5 separate regions of the Homo sapiens genome follow, and regions 1, 3, 4 and 5 are each linked to region 2. Evidence: promoter capture Hi-C in 16 types of primary human blood cells and fetal thymus (Javierre and others, 2016). All regions are on one chromosome and are shown on one strand. The core of a region is centred on a gene start or on the middle of the fragment in contact, and the rest is flanking DNA. Distances in the headings are between cores, read along the strand shown. Region 1 holds the start of MEIOSIN (meiosis initiator). Region 2 holds the start of ERCC2 (ERCC excision repair 2, TFIIH core complex helicase subunit). Region 3 overlaps RELB (RELB proto-oncogene, NF-kB subunit). Region 4 overlaps PPP1R37 (protein phosphatase 1 regulatory subunit 37). Region 5 overlaps CLPTM1 (CLPTM1 regulator of GABA type A receptor forward trafficking).

Evidence for each region. The method cuts DNA at HindIII sites, captures the fragments that hold promoters and counts their contacts. A CHiCAGO score of 5 or more calls a contact.
Region 1: a contact is called between a fragment that was not itself captured here and the fragment with the promoter of ERCC2 in region 2, in 1 of 17 cell types (naive CD8 T cells). The highest score is 5.7, in naive CD8 T cells.
Region 3: a fragment that was not itself captured here is called in contact with the fragment with the promoter of ERCC2 in region 2 in 1 of 17 cell types (M2 macrophages); the score reaches 5.2 in M2 macrophages.
Region 4: a fragment that was not itself captured here is called in contact with the fragment with the promoter of ERCC2 in region 2 in 1 of 17 cell types (monocytes); the score reaches 6.0 in monocytes.
Region 5: a contact is called between a fragment that was not itself captured here and the fragment with the promoter of ERCC2 in region 2, in 1 of 17 cell types (erythroblasts). The highest score is 5.4, in erythroblasts.

Annotation. Positions count from the first base shown.
Region 1 is chr19:45,732,012-45,737,570 of GRCh38, reverse strand. MEIOSIN (meiosis initiator) reads right to left here and starts at 4,132. Exons shown (of 15, transcript NM_001310124.2): 1 at 3,905-4,132; 2 at 2,124-2,194. The coding sequence starts at 2,194. It also overlaps a transcript of FBXO46 not described here. The HindIII fragment of the contact is 152 bases long and covers 3,437-3,588 here.
Region 2 is chr19:45,369,323-45,375,098 of GRCh38, reverse strand. It overlaps ERCC2 (ERCC excision repair 2, TFIIH core complex helicase subunit), which reads left to right and starts at 4,526. Exons shown (of 23, transcript NM_000400.4): 1 at 4,526-4,563; 2 at 4,867-4,966. The coding sequence starts at 4,559. RefSeq lists enhancers at 4,233-4,312, 4,931-5,772. The HindIII fragment of the contact is 22,978 bases long and covers 1-5,776 here.
Region 3 is chr19:45,006,597-45,012,940 of GRCh38, reverse strand. RELB (RELB proto-oncogene, NF-kB subunit) reads right to left here. Exons shown (of 12, transcript NM_006509.4): 3 at 3,119-3,127; 4 at 665-1,005. Among named protein-coding and RNA genes, the nearest start is that of RELB, 8.3 kb to the right of the region's middle. RefSeq lists an enhancer at 807-1,308 and a silencer at 5,671-5,820. The HindIII fragment of the contact is 8,461 bases long and covers 1-5,590 here.
Region 4 is chr19:45,105,608-45,111,344 of GRCh38, reverse strand. All of the region lies in intron 1 of PPP1R37 (protein phosphatase 1 regulatory subunit 37), which reads right to left. Among named protein-coding and RNA genes, the nearest start is that of PPP1R37, 15 kb to the right of the region's middle. RefSeq lists an enhancer at 5,551-5,737. The HindIII fragment of the contact is 4,378 bases long and covers 1,350-5,727 here.
Region 5 is chr19:44,964,420-44,970,727 of GRCh38, reverse strand. The region is part of intron 2 of CLPTM1 (CLPTM1 regulator of GABA type A receptor forward trafficking); the gene reads right to left. Among named protein-coding and RNA genes, the nearest start is that of CLPTM1, 12 kb to the right of the region's middle. The HindIII fragment of the contact is 6,018 bases long and covers 1-5,989 here.

The sequences.
Region 1 (5,559 bases), core at 2,263-4,762, 360 kb before region 2:
CTGCTTCAGTCTGGGAGGTCAAAGCTGCAGTAAACTGTGATCGTGTCACTGCACTCCAGCCTGGGGAACAGAGCAAGACCCTGTCTAAAAAGAAAGAGCCAGGCGTGGTGGCTCATGCCTGTAACCCCAGCACTTTGGGAGGCTGGGTGGATCACTGGATCCCAGGAGTTTGAGACCAGCCTCGGCAACATGGCAAAAACCCATTTCTACGAAAAATACAAAAATTAGCCAGGCGTGGTGGTGCACGCCTATGGTCCCAGCTACTCAGGGGGCTGAGATGGGAAGATTGTTTGAGCCCAGAAGGTCGAGGCTGCAGTCAGCTGGGATTGCACCACTGCATTCCACATTCCAGCCTAGGTGACAGAGCAAGACCTTGTTTCAAAAAAAAAAAAAAAGGAAAGAAGCCAGGCTTGCTGACTCACACCTGTAATCCTAGCACTTTGGGAGGCCGAGGCGGGTGAATCACCTGAGATCAGGAGTTCGAGACCAGCCTGAACAACATGGTGAAACCCTATGTCTACTAAAAATACAAAAATTTGCTGGGCGTGGTGGCATGCGCCTGTAGTCTCAGCTACTCGGGAGGCTGAGGCAGGAGAATCGCTTGAACCCGGGAGGCGGAGGTTGCAGAGAGCCGAGTTCATGCCATTGCAGTCCAGCCTGGGCAGCAAGAGTGAAACTCCATCTCAAAAAAAAAAAAAAAGGCTGGGCGCAGTGGCTCACGCCTGTAATCCCAGCACTTTGGGAGGCTGAGGTGGGCGGATCACGAGGTCAGGAGATCGAGACCATCCTGGCTAACATGGTGAAACCCCATCTCTACTAAAAAAAATATAAAAAATTAGCCAGGCATGGTGGTGGGCGCCTGTAGTCCCAGCTACTCAGGAGGCTGAGGCAGGAGAATAGCGTGAATCCGGGAGGTTGAGCTTGCAGTGAGCCCAGATGACGCCACTGCACTCCAGCGGGCGGATCGCGAGGTCAGGAGTCCAAGACCAGCCTGGCCAACACAGTGAGACCCTGTCTCTACTAAAAATACACACAAAAAAATTAGCTGAGCATAGTGGTGGGCACCTGTAATCCCAGCTACTTGGGAGGCTGAGGCAGGAGAATCGCTTGAGCCTGGGAGGCAGAGGTTGCAGTGAACCAAGATCGCGCCACTGCACTCTACAGCCTGGGCATCAGAGTTAGACTCTGTCTTAAAAAAAAAGGAAAGAAAGAAAGACACTCAGAATGTCAGTTGGGCGTGGTGGCTTAGTAATTCCAGCACTTTGGGAAGATAAGACAGGAGGATCACTTGAGGCCAGAAGTTCAAGACAGGCCTGTGCAACATAGCAAGACCCTGTCACTACAACAAATAGAAAAACTGGCTGGGTGTGGTGGCATGTGCCTGTAATCTTAGCTGTTCGGAAGGCTGAAGCAGGAGGATCAAGCCCAGGCTCAAACCCAGGAGTCCGAGGCTATAGTGAGCTATGATGCCACCACTGCACTCTAACGTGGGCAACAGAGTGATACCCTAACTCTGAAAACAAACAAACTCAGAATGTCACAGGCTGCAAGGACCTTAGAAGTTATCTTTGCCCTAAAAATAAAAAAAGAAATGGGCTGGGCATGGTGGCTTACACCTGTAATCCCAGCACTTTGGGAGGCTGAGACAGGCAGATCACTTGAAGCCAGGAGTTGAAGACTAGCCTGGGGAAAATGGCAAAACCCTATCTTTACAAAAAATACAAAAATTAGCCAGGCATGGAGGCATGAGCCTGTAGTCCCAGCTACTGGGGAGGCTGAGGCAGGAGAATCACTTGAGTTCAGGAGGCGGAGGTTGCAGTGAGCTGGGATCGCAACACTGCACTCCAGCCTGGGCAACAGGAGTGAAACCCTGTCTCAAAAATAAATAAATAAATAAATAAGCAATGATCTTTGCCGATCACCTCAGAGTACTCTCATCTGGAAAATGGTAGGCATCTTTGTACACAACTTCCTCATGAGATTGTTGTATGGATTAACAGTTATCATACAAACAAAATGTTTGGCAAAGAGTCTAGCAAACGGTAAATGCTCAGCAAATGTTTTTGTTATTATTATTCAATGAGAGTGGCTGGGGCTATAAGGGAGATGGGGCAAGCCCTTACCTGTCACTGGGACCCAGTGAATTAGCTCTGGGCTGTTCAGAGGAACCCAAGTATCTGCTGGAACCAAACATCTGCAAAGAGGGAAAAAGAATGATTAGTGACCTCTGGGATTGCAGGAAGGATGGGCAGGAACCCTGATGGGCACCCTTCATCTTCCCTATGATGCTCCTTTGAGCACCCAGAGATCCCAAAATAAGAGTCCCTAGCCCCAACAAATTATGGGCCCAAAGACCCAAATTAAACAGCTAAACCTTGGCCAGAAGTGGTAGCTCACACCTGTAATCCCAGCATTCTGGGAGGCCGAGGCAGGCAAATCACTCGAGGTCAGGAGTTTGAGACCAGCCTGGCCAACATGGTGAAACCCCATCTCTACTAAAAATACAAAAATTAGCCGGGCGTGGTGGTGCACGACTGTAATCCCAGCTACTTGGGAGGCTGAGGCAGGAGAATCACTTGAACCTGGGAGGCGGAGGTTGCACTGAGCCAGGATTAAGCCACTGCACTCCAGCCTGGACAACAGAGTGAGACTGTGTCTCAAAAAACAAAAACAAAAACAAACCCCTAAACCTCTAAAAAGGCACTAAAACTAATACTTTAGAGTCCCAAAATGAGGACCTAAATCCTCACTTTGGAGCCCTCCCAAAGCCAGGTACAGTGGCTCACGCCTGTAATCCTAGCACTTTGGGAGGCCAAGGCAGGAGGATTGCTTGATCTCAGGAGTTTGAGACCAGCCTGGCAATATGACAAAACTCCACCTCTACAAAAAAAAAAAAAAAATTACCTGGGCATAGTGGCACATGCTTGTAGTCCCAGCTACTTGGGAGCCTGAGGTGGGGGGATGGTTTGAGCCCAGGAGGTCAAGGCTGCAGTGAGCTAAAATCGCACTACTGCACTCCAGCCTGGATGACAAAGTGAGACCTTGTCTCAAAAACAAAAAAAAAGGAGCCCTCCCAAACCTACAAACCCTAAATTCTAATACTGAGATACCCCAGACCCTCAAACTGTCAACTTCTGATCTTCAAATATGATCCTAATACTAAGATTACAGACTGCAAGCTGTAACACTATGAACCTATATCCTAAGATAAGAAATCCAGGCCCCTATGAAACAAATCTCACTTCTCCAGATTGACCTCTTAGACGTCCAAACTGTCCCTCAAATTGTGGCCCCAACCCTAAAACTGAGATCTCGAATGTGGGTCCTACTCTGAAACCCCAGACCCTAAAACTGGAGCTCCCATACTCAATGTGGGCACTCCAGGCCCTAAAACGTGCTTCTAAAGACTCAAACTGCGACTCCAGATCCTAAAGCTTCATACTCTACATTGGGATTTAGGCCCTAAATCTATACTGAGGCTTCAGTTGCCCCAAATCAGGCTCCAGACTCTCAAAATGTTACATCATAACTCAGAACTAAGACTTCCAGATCCCCAAATTGGGATCTCTGGATTCCAAGGAGAAAGCTTCCAGTCACAAAACTCAAGCTCTTCAGATTCCAGAACTAGTCACCCCTAGACACAAATCCCGAGATCCCAGATCAGAACTCGAGAGCCCGGATTCCCAACACAAACAGAGTCTTCCGTTCCTCAAACTCGAACCTGGACCCCCGGCTTCAAACCCAAACTCCGTCGCCCGTGGCCCTGCACCCAGAGCATGTTCTATTCCCCTGAGCCCCCCACCGAGGGAAGCTCCTGTGGGGATCCCGGGTTCCCCTAAGCCCAGCTAGTGCTGGGGGAGGCCCCCTGCCCCGCGCCCCATTCCCCTTGGCCTCCAGCACCCGCCTCAGGGCGTGCAAAATGGCGTGAGGCTGCCCCCGCCGTTCTGGTTTCTCCGGGCCCCACTCTAGGGAGCCCGATCAGACAGCGTCTCGCGCGGGTCCCGGGAAGCCGGCCGTGCGCGCGGGGATCCCAGACGGTCTCGGACACCACGTTCCCAACCGGGCTTGGGGTTGGGTGCGAATCCTCCCGGCGCGAGGATCCTGCGCGAGGCGTGAGGAGCAGAGCAAGAGTGCGTTCCTGAGGCCAGGCCACGCCCCTACCAGTTCCAGCCAAGATGTGCTGGGCACGAGACGACGGGGTTGAAAGGGCAGGGTGCAAGTGGCCGTGCGCACGCGCGCCTCGGGAAGGGCCCTGTCGTCTTGCACAGCGTGAGCTCGGCCTCGAGCCTTCTGACAAGGCCTTGGTCGGCGTGAGCCGCTAGGTGACCAATCAGCGCCCGCTCAGCCACCCGCCTTTTTAAGCGGTCACGCCCCTGCACGACCCGCGTGGTCCAGGGCCGTTGCATCCCAAGTAGGCTGGGTTTCCTCAACTGCCAACTCTCAGGAAGAGAGAGAGAGCGAGCTCGCCTGTGTCCCTTCTGGCCCTATGATGTCCCATTTCCACCTTTTCCCTTCAGTTCGTGATTCATGAGGGCCTCCTGTGTGCCAAGCACCAGGCTAGATGGTGGGAACTTAGCCACTGTCTTCCCAGTACAATCGAGAAGACCGTGAGAACCTCCGAGACCATGAGAATCCGGTGAGACGGGAACTCGGTTAATGCAGAGAACAATACGTTGGGAAAGGATTCAAAGAGGAGGGCCATTTGAATTGGGCCTTCTTGGGAGGACGAGGCGGGCGGATCACTTGAGGTCAGGAGTTCCAGACCAGCCTGGCCAACAATGGTGAAACCCCGTCTCGGCTAAAAATACAAAAATTAGCCGGGCATGGTGGGGCGCGCCTGTAGTCCCAACTACTCCAGAGGCTGAGGCAGGAGAATCATTTGAACCTGGGAGGTGGAGGTTGAATGAGCTGGTATCGCCACTGCACTCCAGCCTGGGCGACAGAGCAAGACTCTGTCTCAAAAAAAAAAAAAAAAAAAAAAAGGAAAAAAAAGAAAGAAAAAGAATAAAAGATTTGGGCTTTTTTTTTTTTTTTTTTTGGTAGAGACGAGGGTCTCACTTTGCTGCCTAGTTTGGTCTTAAACTCCTGGACTAAAGCCAGTCTCCCGGCTGAGATTATAAGCATGAGCCACCGCACCCAGCCTGGAAAATACGTCTTAAGGGGAGATGATCTAACGACCTAGTCAAGAGTAGAAACCCTGAAATCCAATACATTTCAGTTCAAATCGTTTTCTTGGCTGTGTTGCCAGCGACAAGAGGCTTAATCTCTTTCTGCCTTATAAATTTGGGATTGTAATTCCTACCAGGGTTGTCTGTAGGGTGTCTGGCATATAGTTCCGATGCAATAAATATTTACTGAACACATGTTTACGCTGTTCTAGGTGCTTGAACAAGGTACACAAAGATCTCTGCCCTCCTGGAGCTTCTTCTTCTTCTTCTTCTTTTTTTTTTTTTTGAGACGGAATCTCGCTCTGTCCCCCAGGCTGGAGTGCAGTGGCGCGATCTCGGCTCACTGCAAGCTCCGCCTCCTGGGTTCACGCCATTCTCTTGCCTTAGCCTC
Region 2 (5,776 bases), core at 3,277-5,776:
TCCTTCCATCCTTTCTCTCTTTCTCCCTTTCTCTCTCTCTCTCTGTCTCTTTCTCTCTTTCTCTCTTTCCTTCTTTCTTCCTTTCTGAGACGGAGTCTGTTGCCCAGGATGGAGAGCAATGGCGCGATCTTGGCTTACTGCAACCTCTACCTCCCAGGTTCAAGCCATTCTCCAGCCTCAGCCTCCCAAGTAGCTGGGACTACAGACATGTGTCACCACGCCCGGCTAATTTTTGTATTTTTAGTAGAGATGAGGTTTCACCATGTTGGCCAGGCTGGTCTCCAACTCCTGACCTCAAGTGATCCGCCCGCCTCGGCCTCACAAAGTGCTGGGATTATAGGCGTGAGCCATCACTCCTGCCATGGAGCTGACTTTTGTTTTTTTCGAGACAGAGTTTCACTCTTGTTGCCCAGGCTGGAGTGCAATGGCGCGATCTCGGCTCAGCGTTAACCTCTGCCTCCCAGGTTCAAGCGATTCTCCTGCTTCAGCCTTCTGAGTAGTTGGGATTACAGGCATGCGACACCACACCCAGCTAATTTTTGCATTTTTAATAGAGATGAGGTTTCACCGTGTTGGTCAGGCTGGTCTGGAACTCCTGACCTCACATGATCCACCTGTTCCAGCCTCCCAAAGTGCTGGGATTACAGGCGTGAGCCCCCGCGCCCAGCCAGGAGCTTTCTAAACAAAATAAATAAGTAAAATATTCAGCATGTCACATGGTTAAATGAGCTCTCAAGAACAATAAAGCAGGGAAAGGGGATATAGTGTGTGTGTGTGTGTGTGTGTGCGTGCGTGCGTGTGTGTGTGTGCGTGCGTGCGTGCGTGTGTGTGTGTGTCTAGGAGGTAGATTTAATTTGGTGGTCAGGAAGCCCTCATTGAGAAGGAGACTTTTTTTTTTTTGAGACAGAGTCTTGCTTTGTCACCCAGGCTGGAGTACAGTGGCATGATCTTGGCTCACTGCAGCCTCTGCCTCCCGGGTTCCAGCAATTCTCCTGCCTCAGCCTCCCGGGTAGCTAGGATTACTGGTATGTGCTACCATGCTTTGCCAATTTTTGTATTTTTAGTAGAGACGGGATTTCACCATCTTGGCCAGGCTGGTCTCGAACTCCTGATCTCAGGTGATCTGCCCACCTCAGCCTCCCAAAGTGGTAGGATTACAGGTGTGAGCCACCATGCCGGGCCGAGAAGTTGACAATTGAGCAAAGAGCTGAGGGAGGTGAGTGTGTCAGCCACATGGCTATCAGGGGAAACAGCATTCCAGGCAGACAAAATAGCTGGTGCAAAGGCCCTGAGATGGGATGTGCTTGTTATGTTTTAGAGACAGCAAGGAGACCAGCATAGCTGAAACAAAATGAGCTGGGGGAGAGAGAGGAGGAGATCAGAGCAGTAAGGTGGGTTGGTATGGGGATGATGAGCAGTAAGCTAGTTACAGAGGACTCTGTAGGTGACAGTAAAGATTTTGGATCTGGGCTGGATGCAGAGGCTCACGCTTGTAATCCCAGTACTTTGGGAGGCTGAGGGAACAGGATGGCTTGAGCCCAATACCAGCCTGGGCAACATAGCGAGACCCTGTCAATAACAAAATATATTTTCTTCCTGTAGGAGATAGAAAAGTAAACATAAAAAAATTTATGTAAATAAATTAAGCCGGGCACAGTGGCTCACGTCTGTAATCCCACCACTTTGGGAGGCTGAGGTGGGAGAATTGCTTGAGCTCAGGAGTTCAACCAGCCTGGACAACATAGTGAGATACCCTCGTCTCTACAAAAAATTAAAAAAAATTAACCAGGCGTGGTGTCGTGTACCCGCAGTCCCAGCTACTCAGGAGGCTGAGGTGGGAGGATCACTTGAGCCCTGGAGGTCAAGGTGGCAATGAGCCAAATTCACACCACCATACTCCAGGCTGGGACAGAGCAAGACTCTGTCTCCAAAAATACAGCCGGGAAGGGTGGCTCACACCTGTAATCCCAGCACTTTGGGAGGCTGAAGTGGGTGGATCTTTTGAGGTCAGGAGTTTGAGGCCAGCCTGGCCAACATAGTGAAACCCCGTTTCTACTAAAAGTATAAAAATTAGCTGGGCAGTAGTGGTGCGCACCTGTAATCCCAGCTACTAGGGAGGCTGAGGCCAGAGAATTGCTTGAGCCTGGGTGGCAGAGGTTGCGGTGCGCTGAGATTGTGCCACTGTACTCCAGTCTGGGCGAAAGAGTGAGACCTTGTCTCAAAAATAAATAAATTAAGAATTAATTAATTTAAAAAAGAGATTTCGATCTGCCCCTGCCTTCCCCTCCAGCTGCCCTTTCTCTGCTCCCTGTGCTCAACTCAGAGCTCCACCCCCACAGGCTTCCTTTCAGCACTCACAGGCCTCAGCTTTCTTCTGGCCTAGAGCTTTTGTGTATGATGGTCTCTCTCCCTGGAACACCTTTCTCACTTCTCTCATCCATCCCCTCTTGCTGGTTGATCTCTTCTAATTATTTTCTGGCTCTACTCAAACCTCGCTTCTTCCACGAAGCCTTCTCTGATCACTTGGCCAACACTCACACCCCACAGTTGACAGTAGACATCCTGTCATAATAAGTCTTTTTTTTTTTTCTTTTTCTGGGACGGAGTCTTGCTCTGTCACGCAGGCTGGAGTGCAGTGGCGTGATCTTGGCTCACTTCTGCCTCCTGGGTTCAAGCAATTCTCCTGCTTTAGCCTCCCGAGTAGATGGGATTACAGATGCATGCCACTATGCCTGGCTTTTTTTTTTTTTTTTTTTTTTTTAGTAGAGATAGGGTTTCACCATGTTGACCAGGCTGGTCTTGAACTCCTGACCTCGTGATCCATCTGCCTTGGCCTCCCAAAGTGCTGGGATTACAGGCATGAGCCACTGCACCCAGCCCATAATCAATCTTTATGGTGACTTGAAGTTTTCCTTCACAGCACTTTTGTACTTGTGATTATACACGTGCGCACACACACACACACACACACACACACACACATTTGAGATAGGTTTTCACTCCTGTTGCCCAGGCTGGAGTGCAGTGGCACAATCACTGCCCATTGCAACCTCTGCCTCCCAGGCCCAGGTGATTCTCCCACCTCAGCCTCCTGAGTATCTGGGACTACAGGTGCACGCCACCACGCCCAGCTAATTTTTGCATTTTTTGTAGAGACGGGTTTTCACCATGTTGCCCAGGCTGGTCTCTAGCTCCTGAGCTCAAGCAATGTACTCGCCTTGGCCTTCCAAAGTGTTGGAACCACAGGCACGAGCCACCACTCCAGGCTGTAATCATATATTCATTTGTATATTTAATATCTGTTCTTTGAGGCCAGGCCTGGTGCCTCACCCCTGTAATCCCAACAATTTGAAAGGCTGAGGGGAGAGGATCACTTGAACCTGCGAGTTTAACCAGCCTGGGCAACGTGGTGAGACCTCGTCTCTAAAAAAATTTAAAAAATAAAACTTAGCTGGGCTTGGTGGTGCACACCTGTGGTCCCAGCTACTCTGGAAGCTGAGGTGGGAGGATCGCTTGAGCCCAAGAGGTGGAGGCTGCAGTGAGCTGTGACTGTGCCACTGCACTCCAGCCTTGGCGACAGAGAAAGACCCTGTCTCAAGGAAAAAAATCTGTTCTTTGAGGGCAGGTGCTGAGGCTGTCATGGTCACCTTTCTGTTCCCAGGGGCCAGCACAGGATCAGACACATGGTAGATGCCACATAGCTATTTGTTGAAGAAACAAACAAAAGCTAGCATTTATGTTTTATTTATTAGTTATTATTATTAATATTTGAAATGGAGTTTCGCTTTTGTTGCCCAGGCTAGAGTGCGACGGCGCCATCTCTGCTCACTGCAACCTCTGCCTCCCAGGTTCAAGCAATTCTCCTGCTTCAGCCTCCCGAGTAGCTGGGATTACAAGCATTTGCCAGCACGCCCGGCTAATTTTGTATCTTTAGTAGAGACAGGTTTTCTCCATGTTGGTCAGGCTGGTCTTGAACTCCCGACCTCAGGTGATCCACCTGCCTCAGCCTCCCAAAGTGCTGGGATTACAGGCTTGAGCCACCGCGCCCGGCCTGCAAAGCCATTTCTAACTCTTGGGCCCAGAAAGGATCACCAATTTCCCTGTCATTCTCCGTTAGACTATTCGCTACTGAGACGATTTTTTTTTTTTTTTGAGACGAGGTGGAGGGGCGGGGGTTCTCGCTATCTTGCTCAAGCTGATCTCGAACTCCTGGGTTCGATCAATACTCAGACAATCTTGGCAGGCGCAGGAGGACCAAATTCTAGTGAATGAGATCGAGTCTCTCGGCTCTTTCCCTTCCATGTTTTCTTTTTGATTGGCCCTCGACGATCCTCAGTGACGCCTCCCGCACCGCCTCACCCGAGAGTCAGCCGCCCTCGCTTTTCCGTGCGCACGCGCAGTATCCCGATTGGCTCTGCCCTAGCGGATTGACGGGCAGGTTAGCCAATGGTCTCGTAATATAGGTGGAGCGAGCCCTCGAGGATGTCCACGACCCGGCCTCTCGCTGAATATTCATGAGGGAGGCGGGTCGACCCCGCTGCACAGTCCGGCCGGCGCCATGAAGTGAGAAGGGGGCTGGGGGTCGCGCTCGCTAGCGGGCGCGGGGGGTCTTGAAGATGGGGTCATCGGTGGGCGCGCCTGGGTCCCCAAGGGGGCGAGGGGAGGGTGAAGGGGTGGGACGGGGGCAGCCGCAGGGAGCAGCAGTGATAGCGAGGAGACACTGAGGGGGCCCCGAGGCTCCTGAGGACCTGAGGGTTACCGGGGGCGCCGGGCCCGTCACCCTTCTCTGGGCTCGACGACCGGGCACTGTGGAGGCGGGAGAGGGGCTGAGGGGACGGGAACTGACCCAGCAGCCCCTGCCGCCAGGCTCAACGTGGACGGGCTCCTGGTCTACTTCCCGTACGACTACATCTACCCCGAGCAGTTCTCCTACATGCGGGAGCTCAAACGCACGCTGGACGCCAAGGTGGGTGGCCGGTGGGCCCGACCCGCCCACTCGACCGGTGGGGCTGCCACGCCTGGGCCTAAGACAGATTGCAGGACGTCTGGATTTTAGAAGTCCGAGGTCCCTGGGAATCCAGGACCCCATAATCTTCCGTTATCTAAAACAATAATGGTGAATAGGCTGGGCGCGGTGGCTCGCGCCTGTAATCCCAGAGCTTTGGGAGGACGAGGCGGGCGGATCACTTGAGGTCAGGAGTTGGAGACCAGCCTGGCCAACACGGTGAAACCCCGTCTGTACTAAAAATACAAAAATTAGCCAGGTGTGGTGGCGGGCGCCTGTAATCCCACCTACTCGGGAGGCTGAGGCAGGAGGATCGCTTGAGGCCAGGAGTTGGAGGCTGCAGTGAGCCATGATTGTGCCACTGCATTCCAGCCTGGGCAATAGTGACACTTGTCTCTTAAAAAAGAAGGGAGAAAAGTTCACTATATATCAGCTACTGTGCCAAATATTTAACCTGCAATTTCTCACAATCCTCATAGTCATGTTATGAGGAAGGTTTTATTATTAGGCCCATTTTATTTTATTTATTTATTTTTGAGATTGAATTACAGGTGCGCGCCACCACATCTGGCTAATTTTTTGTATTTTTAGTAGAGACGGGGTTTCACCTTGTTGGCCCAGCTGGTCTTGAACTTCTGACCTCAGGTGGTTCACCTGCCTCAGCCTCCCAAAGTGCTGGGATTACAGGTGTGAGCCACCACGCCTGGCTTTAGGCTCATTTTAGAGATAGGGATACTGAGGTCTGGGGAGGTGAAGGTACTTGCCTAAGAC
Region 3 (6,344 bases), core at 111-2,610, 360 kb after region 2:
TGTAGCTAGGACTACAGCCATGTGCCACCACACCTGGCTAATTTTTGTATTTTTTGTAGAGATGGGGTTTTGCCGTCTTGCCCAGGCTCATCTAGAACTCCTGAGCTCGAGTGATCCGCTCGCCTCGACCTCCCAAAGTGCTAGAATTACAAGCCTGAGCCACCGCACCACGATCTGCCTTCTTTTTTTTTTTTCTTTTTTTTTGAGACAAGGTCTCACTCTGTTACCCAGACTGCTATGCAATGGTGCAATCTCAGCTCACAGCAGCCTGCACCTCCCTGGGCTCAGCTAATCCTCCCACCTCGGCCTCCTAAATAGCTGGGATTGTGCCACCACACTCGGCTAATTTGTGTACTTTTAGTACAGATGGGGTTTCACCATGTTGGCCAGGCTGGTCTCGAACTCCTGACATCAAGGGATCCGCCCGCCTCAGACTCCCAAAGTACTGGGATTACAGGCGCGAGTCACCGTGCCCAGCCAAATGTCCGACCCCTCCTTTTTTCTGAACCTTTTGGATTCCAGGCCAGGTGATAGTATAATTAATATCTGGTCCAACAATAACAACAACAGCCACCATCAAATAAACGTATAAATGCATGTGGATGGCTCCGGGGTGCAGGGGAAGCCCCAGTCCCACCCGCCCGGGGCCGCTCGCCGGGCCCACCTCGATGGCGGGCAGCGTCTTGCTGGCCTCGGTGCTGCTCTCCCCAAGGATGCTGCCGGCCGAGCGGCCCTCGCACTCGTAGCGGAAGCGCATGCCGCGCTGCTTGGGCTGCTCCGTGATGACCAGGTGCGGCTGCGGGCCCGGGCCCGGCGCTGGGGACACTAGTCGGCCCAGGGGGCAGCCCCAAGGCGGCGGCGTGGCTGGGGGCGCCACAGGGCCCAGGGTGACCGTGCTCAGGGACGCAGCCCCGCGAGACACCAGGCGTGGCAGCCCCTCGCCCGGGCCCGGCTGTCCCCCGTCCAGGCCGAAGCCGTTCTCCTTGATGTACTCGTCGATGATCTCTGCGGGAGAAGAAAAAACGGGTGGTGACGCCCATTCTTTAAAAAATTAAAAAAAAAAAAAAAGGCTTGATTACCCCCGAGACGTTTTCCATCCCATTTATCTCTCTCTCTCTCTCTCTCTCTCTCTCTCTCTCTCTCACACACACACACACACACACACACACACACACACACACACAGAGTCAGGGAGGCCAGGTGCGGTGGCTCACGCCTGTAATCCCAACACCTTGGGAGGCCAAGGTGGGTGAATCAATTGAGGTCAGGAGTTCGAGACCAGCCTGGCCAACATAGTGAAACCCCGTCTCTACAAAAATTAGCCCGAATGGTCTCCCACGTCTGTAATCCCAGCTACTCAGGAGGCTGAGGCAGGAGAACAGCTTGAACCCAGGAGGCGGACACTGCAGTAAGTCAAGATCGTGACACTGCACGCCAGCCTGGGCGACAGAGTGAGACTCCGTCTCTCAATAAATAATAGGCTGGGCGCGGTGGCTCATGCCTGTAATCCCAGCATTTCGGGAGGCCGAGGCGGGCGGATCATGAGGTCAGGAGATCGAGACCATCCTGGCTAACACAGTGAAACCCTGTCTCTACTAAAAATACAAAAAATTAGCCAGGCATGGTGGCACGTGCCTGTAGTCCCAGCAACTCAGGAGGCTGAGGCAGGAGAATCGCTTGAAACCGTCAGGCGGAGGTTGCAGTGAGCCGAGATTGCGTCACTGCACTCCATCCTGCGCAACAGAGCAAGACTCCATCTCAAAAAATAATAATAATAAATAAATAAATAGGCTGGGCATGGTGGCTCACGCCTGTAATCCCAGCACTTTGGGAGGCCGAGGCAGGCGGATCACCTGAGGTCAGGAGTTTGAGACCTGCCTGGCGAACATGGTGAAACCCCATCTCCACTAAAAATATAAAAATTGGGCATGGTGATGTGTGCCTGCAGTTCCAGCTACTCGGGAGGCAGAGGCAGGAGAATCACTTAAACCTGGGAGGTGGAGGTTGCAGTGAGCCAAGATCATGCCATTGCACTCCAGCCTGGGCAACAAGAGCGAAATTCCATCTCTAAATAAATAGATAAATAAATACAAAAATGAGCCAGGTATGTTGGTGCATGCCTGTACTCCCAGCTACTCGGGAGGCTGAGGCAGGAGAATTGCTTGAACCTGGGAGGTGGAGGTTGCAGTGAGCTGAGACAGCACCACTGCACTCCAGCCTGGGCGACAGAGCGAGACTCTGTCTCAAAAAATAACTTAAATAAATAAATAAGAAAGAACTTGCTCCTCCAACTGCCTGTTCCACACGGTCCCCCATTCAACCCATGCTGGCTGCTTCTCCTCCTGGTCTCAGCTCGTATGTTATCTCTTCAGAAAAGCCTAACCTAATGTGTCTTCTCCAGGCCATCTCTCCCTCGTCCTGTTTATTTCTTTCACAGCTCTCAGCCCAGGCTAACATTATCTTGCTCATCTGTTCATTTTCCTCTGTCTCCCACACCGGGCTATCAGCTCTGCGAGGGCAGGGACTTGGTTTTGTTCATGGCTAAATCCCCAGGGCCTAAAACAGTGTCTGTCTGTACTCACTAGGGGATTAATAACATTATTTTATTTTAATTGGTTTTCTTTTTGAGACACGGTCTTGCTCTGCCGCCCAGGCTGCAGTGCAGTGGTGCAATCATAGCTCACTGCAGCCTCGGCTTCCAAGGCAACCTCCCAGGCTCAGGTGATCCTCCCACTTCAGCCTCCTGAGCAGCTGGGACTACAGGTGCGCACCACCATGCCCGGCTAATTTTTAAAAATTTTGTGTAGAGATGGGGGTCTCACTATGTTACCCAGGCTAGTCCTGAACTCCTGGCCTCAAGCAGTCCTCCTGCCTCTGCCTCCCAAAGTGCCAGGATTACAGGTGTGAGTCACACAGCCCCCGGCGTGCTGAGTGTTTTCCAAGTGTCAAGCACTGCTAAGTACCTTAGGAGCATGACTTCGTTCAAATCCCTCCACAGTCCTGGAAGTCACACAGTGACACCTCTCCCCCACCCCCACTGAACAAGGAAGGCCAAGACCCCCTTCTGTAGGCACTTGGGTCCCTCAGCCTCCCCGCAAACCTGCCCTGTGATACTCACCCAATTCATCTGTGGAAGGAAGAGAAAGAGAAAGAGAAAGGTAAGGTCCAGAAAGTGGTCACAACTTTTCATCTTTTAAGACAGATTCCCCAACCCTGTCCCTCCTGTGACCCTTCCGTCTTCCTCCGTCCTGGGAAACCCTGGGCTCTGACTTGCTGGGGCACTAAACCCCAAACCTCATCTTCTCCTCTGGGCTACCATCCTTTCAACCTCTAATGTTGGGGTCCCAGCATCAGGGTATCCTCCAACTAAGCCAAATGCCTCCCGAAAAACATTTAGACCAGGGATTATGAAGTCTTTTTGGGAACCCATTAGAAAGGGGTCTTAGCACCAGGAAAAAGTGGATGCCCAAATTTCCAAACAAATTGGGGTGTGTTCCCTCCCTGAAGTCCACCCCAGGGTCCTGGAGGTCACTGGCTGGTGTTTAAAGATACAAAGAGGTGGCCAGGCCTGGTGGCTCACGCCTGTAATCCCAGCACTTTGGGAGGCTGAGGTGGGCAGATCACTTGAGGTCAGGAGTTCGAGACCAGCCTGGCCAACATGGCGAAACCCCGTCTCTACTAAAAATACAAAAATTAGCTGGGTATCGTGGTGGGCACCTGTAATCCCAGCTACTCGGGAGGCTGAGGCAGGAGAATCGCTTGAACTCAGGAGGCAGAGGTTGCAGTGAGCTGAGATTGCGTCACTGCACTCCAGCCTGGACAACAGAGCGAGACTGTCTCAAAAACAAACAACAACAACAACAAAAAGATGCAAAGAGGCTGATCTGAACCCAGGCAGCCTCTTGCTCTGTACCCCAGCCCTGTCCTCCCACAGTGACCACCCAAAATCCCAGATTCACCCCTGCTTCCTAAGTGAGGAGGTACAGTAATGCTGGGTCCTCAGGGAAGCCCCTTTTCACCTCCCCAGGAAAGCTCAGCCCTTCACAGAATCGTGGAGGAATCGAAACCGACCTCCCGTCATTCCATAGACAGGACAAGGGGAAGCCCAGAGGCCGCCAGTGAGCCTTAGAATCACACAGCAACGGAAGGCAGCTGCAGCCAGGTGTCCCACCCAGGGCTGCCTGCGCTGGTCTCTGGCTGGGGATTTATAGACGCGAACCTGTTCCGCTGCTAGATCTGTCCTCCTCTGTTCTCAGGGAGTGGCTCCTGGCAGCCAGACCTTTGCCCCTTGAAAGGTAGTTTTCCTGCACCCCTTATCTCATGGGATCTGTGAAGCCAGTAGGGTGCCAAGGTCCCCCCAATTTGGCAGATGGGGATACTGAGGCTGGCAGAGAGGAAGGGACACGCTCTAGGTCAGTGGCAGGGCCAACCTCAAGTCACTTGAACTGGGAAAATCCTTCTTAGGCATCTGTGCTGGATGAACCTGGGGACCCAAAGACAGAGTTAGACTTTGGACCCTCCAGAGGCTCCCGGGCTGTAGGGGGAGACTGAGTCCTGGGCGGCTGTGGCTGGAGCTCTGGGTTCACTGCCTCTGTTCAAATCCTGGCTCTGCAACTTGCTAGTTGTGGGGCCATAAGCCTATTACTTCACCTTTTTGTGCCTTGGCTTCTTCATCTGTAAAATGGGCACAATAATAATGCCTACCTTGTTGGGCTAAGATACTTTTATTTAATATTTTATTTTATTTTATTTTATTTATTTTTATTTTTTTGAGACGGAGTCTTGCTCTGTCACCCAGGCTAGGGTGCAGTGGCACAATCTTGGCTCACTGCAACCTCTGCCTCCTGGGTTCAAGTGATTCTCCTGTCTCAGCCTCCCGAGTAGCTGAGATTACAGGTGCACACCACCACACCCGGCTTTTTTTTTTTTTTTTTTTTTTTGTATTTTTAGCAGAGACGGGGTTTTACTATGTTAGTCAGGCTAGTCTCGATCTCCTGACCTCATGATCCGCGCACCTCGGCCTCCTAAAGTGCTGGGATTACAGGCGTGAGCCACCACGCCCAGCCTATTTTCTATTTTTTGAGATGGAGTCTTGCTCTGTCACCCAGGCTGGAGTACAGTGTGGTGCATTCTTGGCTCACTGCAACCTCTGCCTCCCGGGTTCTAGCGATTCTCCTGCCTCAGCCTCCTGAGTAGCTGGGATTACAGTCTCGTACCACCATGCCCGGCTAATTTTTGTACTTTTAGTAGAGACGGGGTTTCACCATGTTGGCCAGGCTGGTCTCGAACTCCTGGCCTCAAGTGACCCACCCACCCCAGCCTCCCAAAGTGCTGGGATTACAGGTGTGAGCCACCACGCCTGGCCATGGGCATGATTTTAGAGCATGGAGTGTAGAGTCACATAGAGTTGATTTGAATCTCAGCTGTTACTCACTGGCTGTGCAGCCTTGGGCAAGTCACTTACCGTCTCTGAGCTTCCTCTACAAAATGAGGTGTGAGCTCCTACCTCAGGAACTAACATGAGGATTCAGAATCACACAGGTAAACTACTTAGTGCAGGTTCTGACCACGCGACATCTTCCAGAAAGCTTAGTTAATATTATTATTATCTCAAGTCCTCTATTAGCCAGGAAATTATTCAAGTTTCTGCTCAAATAGCAGTGCCTCCCTTTACCCCCAACGTGGACTTGCCACCATTCAGGGGCAGCCAGGATGGGCCACGTGAGAGCAGATGTGAGAGCAGGAAATTGACTATGTATGTGCTGCCTCAGCCTTTGCACAGGCTGGTCTCTGCCTGAATGCTCTTCCCCCAGTTCTTTGCATGGCGTGACTTCCTCCTCCTCCATCTTCAGTTCCTTGGTCAAACGTCACATCCTAGACAGCTCTTCCCTGACCATTTTATCCAAGAGAGTCCCCTTATCCCCCACTCCAGTCCCTCAAAGTCAGGTGCCTTTGTTTTATCATTTTCTTTTTTTTTTTTTTTTTCAGATGGAGTTTTGCTGTTGTCACCCAGGCTGGAGTGCAATGATGCAATCTCAGCTCACCACAACCTCCGCCTCGCAGGTTCAAGTGATTCTCCTGCCTCAGCCTCCTGAGTAGCTGGGATTACAGGCCACCACACCCAGCTAATTTTCGTATTTTTAGTAGAGATGAGGTTTTGCCACGTTGGTCAGGCTGGTCTTGAACTCCTGACCTCAGGTGATCCACCCACCTCGGCCTCCCAAAGTGCTGGGATTACAGGCATGAGCCACCACACCCAGCCTGTTTTATCATTTTCATGGCGCTGATGAAGATGTCACATGACCTCACATTACACTGACTCATACCTGTCTCCTATAGACTGG
Region 4 (5,737 bases), core at 2,289-4,788, 260 kb after region 2:
CGAGATTGCACCACTGCACTCCAGCCTGGGTGACAGAGTAAGACTCTGTCTCAATTAAAAATAATAATAATAATAATAATAATAATTAAAAAGCAGAAGGGAGGGAGAAGAGTGTTGCAACAGACAGAACAGCATGTGCAAAGGCTCAGAGGAGACAGAGCTCTTGGAGCCTTGGGGAACTGAAGATCACTGTCAGGGTCAAATGAGCATACAGGCAAGACAATCCGGCAGAGGACTCAGCAGAGCTGGGGGCACCGAGGTGCTTGACAAGGGTTTGCTGAGTCATTTAGTGGCTCAATGCTTCCTAGCACTGCCACCCACCCAAGTCCTCAGTAGGTGACAGGGCCAGGCTCGGGAAAGGGGGCCTCTGAGGAAAGCCCAGCACTCATCGGTAGACATTCAGTCCTGCCAGAACCAGGCAGGCTATTTCGGGCCACCTGCCTCAGGCTTCTGGTCATGGGTACCAGATGGCCATCTGAATTCAGAAGCTTTGGGAGTGCTTTAGATTGGAATTTTAGAAACTGTAAGCTGTTTACTGGTCCAGCAAAGGCTCCAGTGATGGAAACCAGGTGCTTGGAATTTCTTACTGCCCACCCTCACCTTCCTCCTTCATAACAAGAGGGTAATGCCACCAACCCTCAGAGGTCTGTTTGGGAACTAATGAACATATTTTCATTCATTCATTCTTTATGCAACAACCTGGGCTAGGCAGACAGCCGTGAACAAAACAGGGCTGGTCCCTGCCCTCAAGGACTGGGAGGAAGGCAAACAAATCACCCAAAAATTTACCAGTTATAAGAAGAAAATGCATATTATAGGGGAAAACACAGGGGATACAAATTCAGATTTGGAGGAATAGTTAGAAAAGACCCATAAGAGAAAAGAACATTTCGACTGAGACCTAAAAGATGAGTAAAAGTAAGAAATGTGGCCAGGTGCAATGGCTCATGGCTGTAATCCCAGCACTCTCGGAGGCCAAGGCAGGAGGATCACTTGAGCCCAGGAATTTAAGACTAGCCTGGGCAACACAGGGAAACCCCGTCTCTACAAAAAATCCAAAAATTAGCCAGGTGTAGTGGTACGTGCCTGTGGTCCCAGCTACTCAGAAGGCTGAGGCGGGAGGATCACCTGGGCCCAGGAGATCTAGACTGCAGTGAGCCATGACCACGCCACAGCACTGCAACCTGGGAGACAGAGCAAGACTCTGTCTCAACAAAAAAAAAAAAAAGAAAAAGGGAATTCATTAATTCCTTCAAATATTTATTGTTGTCTATTCTATGCCAGGCACTATTCTAGGTGCCAGGCTACACTGGTGAACAAAAAAGCCAGACATCCCATCTCAAGAAGCTTACACTGGATGGGGACAGGAGGCCATAAGCCAACAGGAGCCACACAAAAGTCCAGGCCATCCTTCCAGACAGAGGGAAGAGTCGGTTCTGAGGACCCTCCAACAGGGCAGAGGGGGAGCAGAGCTGAGGCTGCAGATGCAGGTGGGCGACAGATCCTCAGGGCAAAGAACAGTATTCCTGAAGAGTCAGGAAGCTACTGGAAGGAAACAGCACATGACATACAGGACCCTCATACAGAGGGTGCTGATGACGTGGTGGCCATGGCTGTGGGAGACGAGGGAGTCCAGGCTCCTGCTGAAACTTGAGGCTCCTGGGACTTGCTGAGCCTCCATAGCTGTGGTGGGCTGGATGTGTCCAGGGACCCAGGCAGGGCTGCCCTGGCTTCTGCCATCTTCAGCAAGTGACCAATGACCCCAAGTAGCAGTTTCTTATCTGCAAAAATGTGGGGCACCAGCAGGTTCACCGAGTCACTCAGCCTGGTGCTCAGCAAATGGGGCTGGAGTTGTGGTTACAGTGGACCCTCTGTAACCTGCTAACCCTTTTCCCAGGCCGGGCCTCCACTAAAGCACCCTCTCTCCTACACTGCAGGGCCTCCAAGGCCTGGGCTGCCACTGCCTCCTCTGCCCTCTCTGAGGGCCCCAGCCCTGTGTTTCTCCATCCCAAGCTGTTCACACTGAGATGGGGCTTTGCTATGATGACTCGGTGAAATAGCAGAGGAGAAAGTGCTTCTCTTTAGTGTCCTGCACCCCTGTCCCCCACCTTTCCTGCAAGGCAAATGATAAATGAGGACAAATATATCTGCACAATAAAATTACATCTATCTTCAATAGAGGAGTCCTTATAAAGGTCCCAAAATAAAAATAGGCAAAGGGCATGAAGAACCAATTCCCAGAACCATGTAACATGTTAACAATAAACAGGTTAGGTCGGGCGCAGTGGCTCATGCCTGTAATCCCAGCACTTTGGGAGGCCAAGACAGGAGGATCACTTGAGGCCAGGAGTTCGAGACCATCCTGGGCAACATAGCGAGACCTCATCTCTACAAAAAACAAAAAAGACCAGGCACGGTAGTTCACGCCTGTCATCCCAGACTTTGGGAGGCCAAGGCGCGTGGATCACCTGAGGTCGGGAGTTACAGACCAGCCTGACCAACATGGAGAAATCCTGTCTCTACAAAACATACAAAATTAGCCGGGTGTGGTGGTGCATGCCTGTAATCCCAGCTACTCGGGAGGCTGTGGCAGGAGAATCGCTTGAACCTGGGAGGCGGAAGTTGTGATGACCTGAGATCGCGCCATTGCACTCCAGCCTGGGCAACAAGAGTGAAACTCCATTAAAAAAAAAAAAAAACCCACAAAAATACAAAACAAACAAACAAAACCGAAGTTAACTAGTAGTCAAAAGAACGCTCGCTAAAACAAGACACCATCTTAACATCAAGGCACCCACATGCAAATACTATTCATTCAATCATTAAAAAAAAAATCTGGTCAGGTGCAGTGACTCACGCCTGCAATTCCAGCACTTTGGGATGCTGAGGCAGGCAGATCACCTGAGATCAGGAGTTTGAGACCAGCCTGGCCAACAGTGAAACCCCGTCTCTACTAAAAATACGAAAATTAGCCGGGCGTGGTGGTGCGCGCCTATAATCCCAGCTACTCGGGAGGCTAAGGCAGGAGAATGGCTTGAGCCTAGGAGGTGGAGTTTGCAGTCAGCCAAGATCACGCCACTGCACTCCAGCTTGAGGGACAGATCGAGACCCTGTCTCTGGCCATGGTTTAAACCTCAAAAGCAGAAAAAAAGAGAGAGACCCTCTCTCAGAAAAAAATCTAAAGCTACAGTGGTGACTATGACGACAGAACCCTAGCCCTCAACACTCACTGTCCAATGTGGGCACAGCCAGTATCTGAGACTTCCAATGTTCCTTCCCTTTGACCTGGTAAAATCACCTTCTAAGAATTTTTTCTAAGAAGGCTACCCGTGTGATGAGCATGAAGATTTATGGACAAGGACGAACATCACTGCATTATCTATGCAACTGAAAACTGGAAAGGACCTAAACGCTCAGCAATGCGGAAATGGCTAGAATGAATTACAACAGCCCAGTGATGTACTTTAAATCATGCTTTCTAAAAAAACGGAAAAATGAAGTGCAGAAGCAGGATATTCAACTGTATCTACAGTATCCTCACAGCTTTATTTTTATCTAGCGGTGGCTGTGAATCTAGCCAGAGAGAAGAGACGGGAAGGAAATGCACTGGCATTACACGCTGAAAACATCCCAGGTGGTGCAAATCGCTCAGCTGAGAAGTCCTGCATCCGGGATACACGTATATAGAACTCTCACAACTCAATAATGAAGGGACAAACAATTCATTTACTTATTTTTTATTTATTTTTGAGACAGAGTCTCACCTAGGCTGGAGTCCAATGGCAAGACCACAGCTCATTGCAGCCTCGACCTCCTGGGCTCAAGCAATCCTCCCACATTAGCCTCCCAGGTAGCTGGGACTACAGGCATGAGCCACCAGGCTTGGTTAATTTTTTACATTTTTTTATAGAGATGGGGTCTCACCATGTCGTCCAGGCTGGTCTCGAACTCCTGGGCTCAAATGATCTGCCCACCTTGGCTTCCCAAAGTGCTGGGATTACAATTGTGAGCCACTGCGCCTGGCTCCCCTTTTTTTTAATAGAGACTGGGTCTTGCTATGTTGCCCAGGCTGGTCGCGAACTCTTCGGCCTCCCAAAGTGCTGGGATTATAGGCATGAATCACTGTGCCCGGCTGGCTCAATTTAAAAATGGGCAAAAGAACTAAAAAGACATTTCTCCAAAGAAGATACACAAGTGTTCAGCAAGCACATAAAAAGATGCTCAACATCAGCTGGGCACGGTGGCTCATGCCTCTAATCCCAGCACTTTGGGAGGCCAAGGTGGGCGGATCACGAGTTCAGGAGATTGAGACCATCCTGGCTAACATGGTGAAATCCCGTCTCTACTAAAAACACAAAAAATTAGCCGGGCATGGTGGCGGGCGCCTGTAGTCTCAGCAACTTGGGAGGCTGAGGCAGGAGAATGGCGTGAACCTGGGAGGCGGAGCGTGCAGTGAGCCGAGATCACGCCACTGCACTCCAGCCTGGGTGACAGAGCGAGACTCCATCTCAAAAAAAAAAAAAAAAAAAAAAAAAAAGATGCTCAACATCATTAGCCATAAGGAAATGCAAATCAAAAGCACAACGAAGCCTGAGCAACCCGGTGCAAATCCATCTCTACAAAACAATTAAAAATAAGAAAATCAGCCAGGCATGGTGGCTTGTGCCTGTGGTTCTAGCTAATCTGGAGGCTGAGGCAAGAGGATCACTTGAGCCTGGGAGGTGGAGGCTGCAGTGAGCTAGGATTGCACTACTGCACTCCAGCCTGGGCGACAGAGGAAGACCTCATCTCAAAACAAACAGGCCAGGCGCGGCGGCTCACGCCTGTAATCCCAGAGCTTTGGGAGGCCGAGGCGGGTGGATCATTTGAGGTCAGGAGTTCGAGATCAGCCCAGCCAACATGGTGAAACCCTGTCTCTACTAAAAATACAAAAAAATTAGCTGGGCATGGTGGCGCATGCCTATAATCCCAGCTACTTGGGAGGCTGAGGCAGGAGAATCGCTTAAACTTGGGAGGCAAAGGTTTCAGTAAGCCAAGATCCTGCCACTGTACTCCAGCCTGGGCAACAAGAGCGAAACTCCATCTCAAAAAAAAAACAAAAACAAAAACAAAACAGCTGGAGGGGTGGCCGAGGAGAGCAGCAGGAGCCTGGACCCAAGTGCCAGGGCATCCTTGGGTAAGTGCCGCCCCTCTCTGGTTACCCCTCTACCCCTGAGATGAGGAAGGGGCTGGTGCCAGCCCTGGATTCTTTTGACTGCACTGGAAGGCAGTAAGCACAAACACCTGGACCTAACAGCTGGTGGGAGGACATTCAGTCAGATGGCCCCGCCTGTTGGTGTCTGCTCCACCCCAGGACCAGACAGGATCAGGCCACTGTCAGACTTGGGCACTCTAAGCCAGGCTCCATGAGGGCGCTGTCCCTGGGCTCTGCCAGCAACAGCCCCAACTCCATTTTAATGGAACAACATTTACTGAACACCTGCTCTGTGCCTGGAGCTGTGCAGGAGACACAGCAGGGACCGAGAAAGCCCCGGGCCTGACCCCCTGGGACTTGTCCAGCAGGGAACACAGGTCCAGGCACAGCAAGGAAGGCAGCCCTCCAGGGAAACGGAACACTGACTGTTCATTGTGATCATAGTAGGCAGAACCGGGCCGGGAATCAAGGATCCCAAGCCCGTGACAGAAGGGGATTACAGAACACAGAGTGAGAACGGAGTCATGGAAGCTTGGCTGGGTG
Region 5 (6,308 bases), core at 1,731-4,230, 400 kb after region 2:
TGTTTTGGTGGGTGACAAAAATGCTGGCCTAGGCTGGGCGCGGTGGCTCACACCTGTAACCCCAGCACGCTGGGAGGCTGAGGTAGGTGGATTGCTTGAGCCCAGGAGTTTGAGACCAGCCTGGGCAACACACAGTTTCTACAAAAAATACAAAAATTAGCCAGGCATGGCAGCACGCACCATGCCTATATTCCCAGCTACTCAGGAGGCTGAGGTGGGAGAATCACCTGAGCCCAGGAGGTCGAGGCTGCAGTGAACCACGATCATGCCACTGCACTCCAGCCTGGGCAACAGAGTGAGACCCTGTCTCAAAAAAAAAAAAAAAAATGCTAGCCCAGGGCACATACAACATATGAGGTAACCAGAGACCTACCCTATAGGAAACTAAGACCCCACAAGGTGCAAGCCTCCACCCCTGAGAAGGAAGGAACCAGGTGGCCTACCCATTCCCAGGAGTTGCACAACAGGTATGCAGGGCGAAGTATGCAAGGCCACTCGTGGGATAAGGAGTCACGAAGGGCAGCTCAAGCCCTGAACCTGGTGCAAGGAAACCTAGGACTTGGTAATGCCCCCAGGCAGAAGCAAAGGCAATCCTCTCTGTAGGAAAATATGCTCATCCTAGCCCTGAAATTCCTACAAATAACTTTTCAAGTATAATGACTAGGACACAGACAGAGATAAGCCAGGCACAAAAGGAAACGACATTATGAGCGAGAATCAGCAGCAACAACAGATACCAAAACCAAAACGAGGCTGGGCGTGGTGGCTTACACCTATAATCCCAGCACTTTGGGAAGCCAACACTTGAGGTCAGGAGTTCGAGACCAACCTGGCCAACATGGTGAAACCCCATCTCTACTAAAAATACAAAAATTAGCCGGGCGTGGTGGCGGGCGCCTGTAATCCCAGCTACTTGGTAGGCGGAGGCAAAAGAATCGCTTGAACCTGGGAGGTGGAGGTCGCAGTGAGCCGAGATCATGCCACTGGACTCCAGTCTGGGTGACAGAGTAAGACTCCATCTCAAAAAAAAAAAAAAAAAAGTGTCCTTAAAGAGAAGAAATATTCCTTCTTGATTTATTCTTCTCTCCTGTTGCCTGGAGTGTGGATGTGATGGCTGAATCTTCAGCAGCTGTCTTGGGCTATGAGGATAAAGGGAAAAACCTAGCAATGGCACAACAAACAGCAAGGAGTCTGGGTCACTGAAGACTGCAGAATCCTAGTCTGCCTCCATCCAGACTGGTATATCAGAGAGAAATGAACCTGTACTGTGTTAATGGAGGTTTCTCAGCTGCATGCAGCCATGTGATTAAATGATTCAAGTACTTATTAATTATAGGTATGATAACCATACAGCAGAAGAGGTTATGAGCCCAGCCTCTAAACTACAGTATCTTCATCTGAAGCCCAGCTCTGCTACTTACTGTGACCTCAGTGGTCAACTTCAATGGTTGAAATGGGGATAATAACAGTGCCTACTCTCATAGGGTAGTTTATAAGCATTAAACACATTAAATTATATATATGTTTATATAGCGTGTATATACATCTGACACACGCACACGTACCTCAGAATGGAGCCTGGTGCATACCCAGTAAGTGACTGAGAAGTGTTAGCTATTACTGTTATTTTAATCATAGGAAAAAGGCATACAAAAAACTTTGGAGCAGAAAAACACTATGAGTAAATTCTAGTGTGGGTGGGGTGCCTCCCTGCTGAGCCCTGATCAGGGGCAGGATCAGGCACAGGAACTTGCCTCTGCCTGTAGAAGCCACAAGGCCCTGGGGTCCAGGGTCTTAGGGGCCACGGTCCAGCTGAGCCATCGCTACCTCCCCATGAAGTCCCTGATATGCACGTCTGGGGAAGGTCTGGACCTGGCAATCTCTGGGGATACCGATGCCTCCAGCAGAGGCTCTCATTTTAGTAAACACACCAGGGGAGAGTGTAGAAGCAGTGATGCCCCCAGGCAGCTCTGCCCCTGGCTTAGTGTGTGGCTGTGGGGGTCCTAACCCCTCTGGGCTTCTAGATCCCCATGTATAAAACAAGGCCAGGCCTTTTTGGATTCCAGATCCCCAGTCCCCTGAAGAACGTCCTGTGTGTATCCACACGCCCACAGTTCTGTGGACCCTCTCAGAGGGCTCATGGCCATGGCCCCTCATCCATGCACCCAGGCCTGCAGGAGACTGGACCTTTCTAATGCTTCCTGATGTACTTGAGTAAGCAAAGAAAACAGACATTAAATCCTTTCTCCCACCCAAATAGGTATTCTACAGTCACAGGTTCAGAACATTTTTAAATATATGAAAAGACGTATAATCAAAACTCTCCCTCCCACCCCATTCCTTTATATACCCAGTTCCTGCTCCACCTCCCACTCCAGGTAACCACATGTGCTCAAAAACACAGACGCCACCCGCTATCTAGAAAGGCTATTCCCACATAATCAGCTTCAAGCTACAAGGAGTTCATGGGCCCCTGAAAACAAACCCTGGATCCCATTTTAAGAACTGCAGCCAAGATGGTCTCCGAGCACCCACCCGAACTGATGTTTGATGCTGCCTAGTTCTAAGAAAGGAAATTAGCCTACAGTGTGACTTGTATTAAAAATGTCTCTCTGAAGGAAGCTCCCTATGCACTGACGTGGAAAGATTTCAAAGATATATTGTTAATGAAAAAAATCAAGGAGCAGAACAGTGTGTAAAACAGGCTACCTCTTATGTAAAAATGAAGGGAAAGATAAAAATAATTTTCATGCAGAGCTGCTTGCAGCATGAAAAAAAAGAAGGTGATATATAAGAAAATCTGAAGTCTTTACGTGGCCATGGGGAGGGGAGGTGAAGTGGAGACGGTAAGGGACAGGGGCGCATGACTGAGAAGCGTAGGGCACATGGCAGGAATTTTTGAGGCACACATGTCAGTTTTGCAACTTAACAGAGTGGGGAGGTTTCTTTCCTGCAGTTTCTCAGTGTCCTGTGTGACACTCTTGGAGGACACCAGGCAGGCAGTTCTGCTCTAGTCTAGAATGTGATCAGTGACTACATCAGGGATCATGAGTTGTTTTTTTTTTTTTTTGGGACAGAGTTTCACTCTTGTTGCCCAGGCTGGAGTAAAATGGCATGATCTCGGCTCACTGCAACCTCCGCCTCCCGGGTTCAAGCGATTCTCCTGCCTCAGCCTCCTGAATAGCTGGGATTACAGGCATAAGCCGCCATGCCCGGCTAATTTTGTATTTTTTGCAGAGATGGGTTTCTCCATGTTGGTCAGGCTGGTCTGGAACTCCCGACCTCAGGTGATTCACCTACCTTGGTCTCCCAAAGTGCTGGGATTACAGGCGTGAGCCACTGCACCCGGCCTCATGAACTTTTTTTTTTCACTGTTTCACTATATATTTCCTAAGGTTTTTGTTTGTTTGAGATACAGTCTCACTCTGTTGCCTAGGCTGGAGTGCAGTAGTATCATCACGGCCCATTGCAGCCTTGACCTCCTGGGCTCAAGCGATCCTCCCTCTTCGGCCTCCCTAATAGCTGGCACTACAGGTGTGCGCCATCACACCCAGCTAATTTTTTAGTTTTTTACAGAGATGGGGTCAGGATAGGCGCGGTGGCTCACGCCTGTAATCCCAGCACTTTGGGAGCCCGAGGTGCGTGGATAGCGAGGTCAGGAGATCGAGACTATCCTGGCTAACACGATGAAACCCTGTCTCTACTAAAAATACAAAAAATTAGCCGGGCGCTGTGGCGGGCGCCTGTAGTCCCAGCTACTCGGGAGGCTGAGGCAGGAGAATGGCGTGAACCTAGGAGGCGGAGCTTGCAGTGAGCCGAGATCGCGCCACTGCACTCCAGCCTGGGCGACGGAGCGAGATTCTGTCTCCCAAAAAAAAGAGAGAGAGAGAGAGAGATGGGGGTCTTACTGTGTTGCTCAGGCTTTTTTTTTTTCCACGTTGAACAACAAAAGGAATCATGGCCAACATTGTCTGTGTGCGTGCCAGCTCCTGCACCCCTCAGTTGACATGAATTCTCTTGGAATCCTTCTGATGCACCCTGAGCTAATTGTCAAGATTCCCTGTCTGTGAGGTGGAAAATGAGGCTCAAGAAGGGTGATAACCTGACCAGGCCACAGAGCTCAGAGGTGGCAGGGCTGAGATGTCAGCAGGGCTGTGCTCTTACACGCTATCTGACACTACCTGCCCCCCGCCTCCTAACTTTTCTCTATTTTAAACAACTCTATCTGTGAGCATCTATATATAATCCCATTTAGGGCCAATTACAAAAATGTGTGCCTATGGGATGGCCACCAACACATTACACTTTTTTATTTTTGAGACTGTGTCTCGCTCTGTCACCCAGGCTGGAGTGCAGTGGCGGCATCTTGGCACACTGCAAGCTCCGCCTCCTAGGTTCACGCCATCCTCCTGCCTCAGCCTCCCGAGTAGCTGGGACTATAGGCGCCTGCCACCATGCCCGGCTAATTTTTTATATTTTTAGTAGAGATGCAGTTTCACTGTGTTAGCCAGGATGGTCTCGATCTCCTAACCTCGTGATCCACCCACCTCGGCCTCCCAAAGTGCTGGGATTACAGGCGTGAGCCACCGCGCCCGGCCCACATTACACTTTTTCATTAGCTTTTTCTTTTCACTCTTCGTATTGTTTGAACTACTTAATTTTGTAAAATAAACACTCATAATTTATAAGCTAAGGGAAACCAGTAATAAGATTTTATGGAAGAGATAAGTAGCTGCCCCCCATAACCACTCTCCTCTTCTTCCTCAGTAATAGGAGCCCTGCTTTCCAGCAGGGTGCTCAGTTTCCCAGATTAAAGACCACATTTCCCAGCCTCCCGTGCAGCTGGCCATGGCCATGTGAAGACATTCTAGCCAAAGGAATGATTGTTTTATTTTTTTATTTTTGTTTTATTTTTTGAGACGGAGTCTCGCTGTCGCCTAGGCTGGAGTGCAGTGGCACCACCTGGGCTCACTGTAAGCTCCGCCTCCTGGGTTCACACCATTCTCTTGCCTCAGCCTCCTGAGTAGCTGGGACTACAGGCGCCCGCCACCACACCTGGCTAATTTTTTTGTATTTTCAGTAGAGACGGCGTTTCACTGTGTTAGCCAGGATGGTCTCGATCTCCTGACCTCGTGATCTGCTTGCCTTGGCCTCCCAAAGTGCTGGGATTACAGGCGTGAGCCACCGCGCCCAGCCATGATTGTTTTATTTTTATTTTCTCTTTTTTTTTTGAGACTCAGTCTTGCTCTGTCGCCAGGCTTGAGTGCAGTGGCACGATCTTGGCTCACTGCAACCTCTACCTCCCAGGTTCAAGTGATTCTCCTGCCTCAGCCTCCCGAGTAGCTGGGACTACAGGCTTGTGCCACCACACCCAGCTAATTTTTGTATTTTTAGTAGAGATGGGGTTTCACCATATTGGCCAGGATGGTCTCGATCTCTTGACCTCATGATCTGCCTGCCTCGGTCTCCCAAAGTGCTGGGATTGCAGGCGTGAGCCACCGCACCTGGCGGGATGATTGTTGTAAACATCTCTGCTGTGCAATTCCTTCTATCTCATAAGTAGGGAAGCTGATTGCCTAACTGCATGGTGTGGTCTCTTATTTTGCTAAAATACATCTCCAAAAAGCAAAAAAAAAATAAAAGGAATATCTATTTTGCAGAGGAGTAAACAAAGGCTCAGAGCAAAGAAGGTGACTGTCACTAGGTCTAGGCAGGAAGGATAGAACCCAGTGCCAAGCATATTCCCCCGCCACCACCCAGCATCTCCCCAGGGCCTCAAACAGAAGCTGGGCTTTGAAAAAACAGGCCCTGGGGTCCCACTGCCCAGGAATAGCATGTGAACCCACAGGTAAAAGGGTCACCACCAGGCAGTCACAGAAGGACAAATGCTGTCTGATTCCACATACAGGAGCTAACTAGAGTAGTGAAAGAGAGACAGGAAATAGAAAAGTGGCTGCCAGGTGTTGCAAGGAGGAAGAAATGGGAAGCTTGTGTCTGATGGGTATGGAATTTCAGTTTGGGAAGAGTAAATTCTCGGGATGGATAATGGTGATGGGGGCACAACAGTGGAGATGTACTTAATGCCACAGGACTACATACTTAAAAATGGTTAAAATGGGCCAAGCGTGGTGGCTCACGCCTATAATCCCAGGACTTTAGGAGGCTGAGGCGGGTGGATCACCTGAGGTCAGGAGTTAGAGACCAGCCTGGCCAACACGGCAAAACCCCATCTCCACTAAAAATACAAAAATTAGCCAGGCGTGGTGGCAGGTGCCTGTAGTCCCAGCTACTCAGGTGGCTGAGGCAGG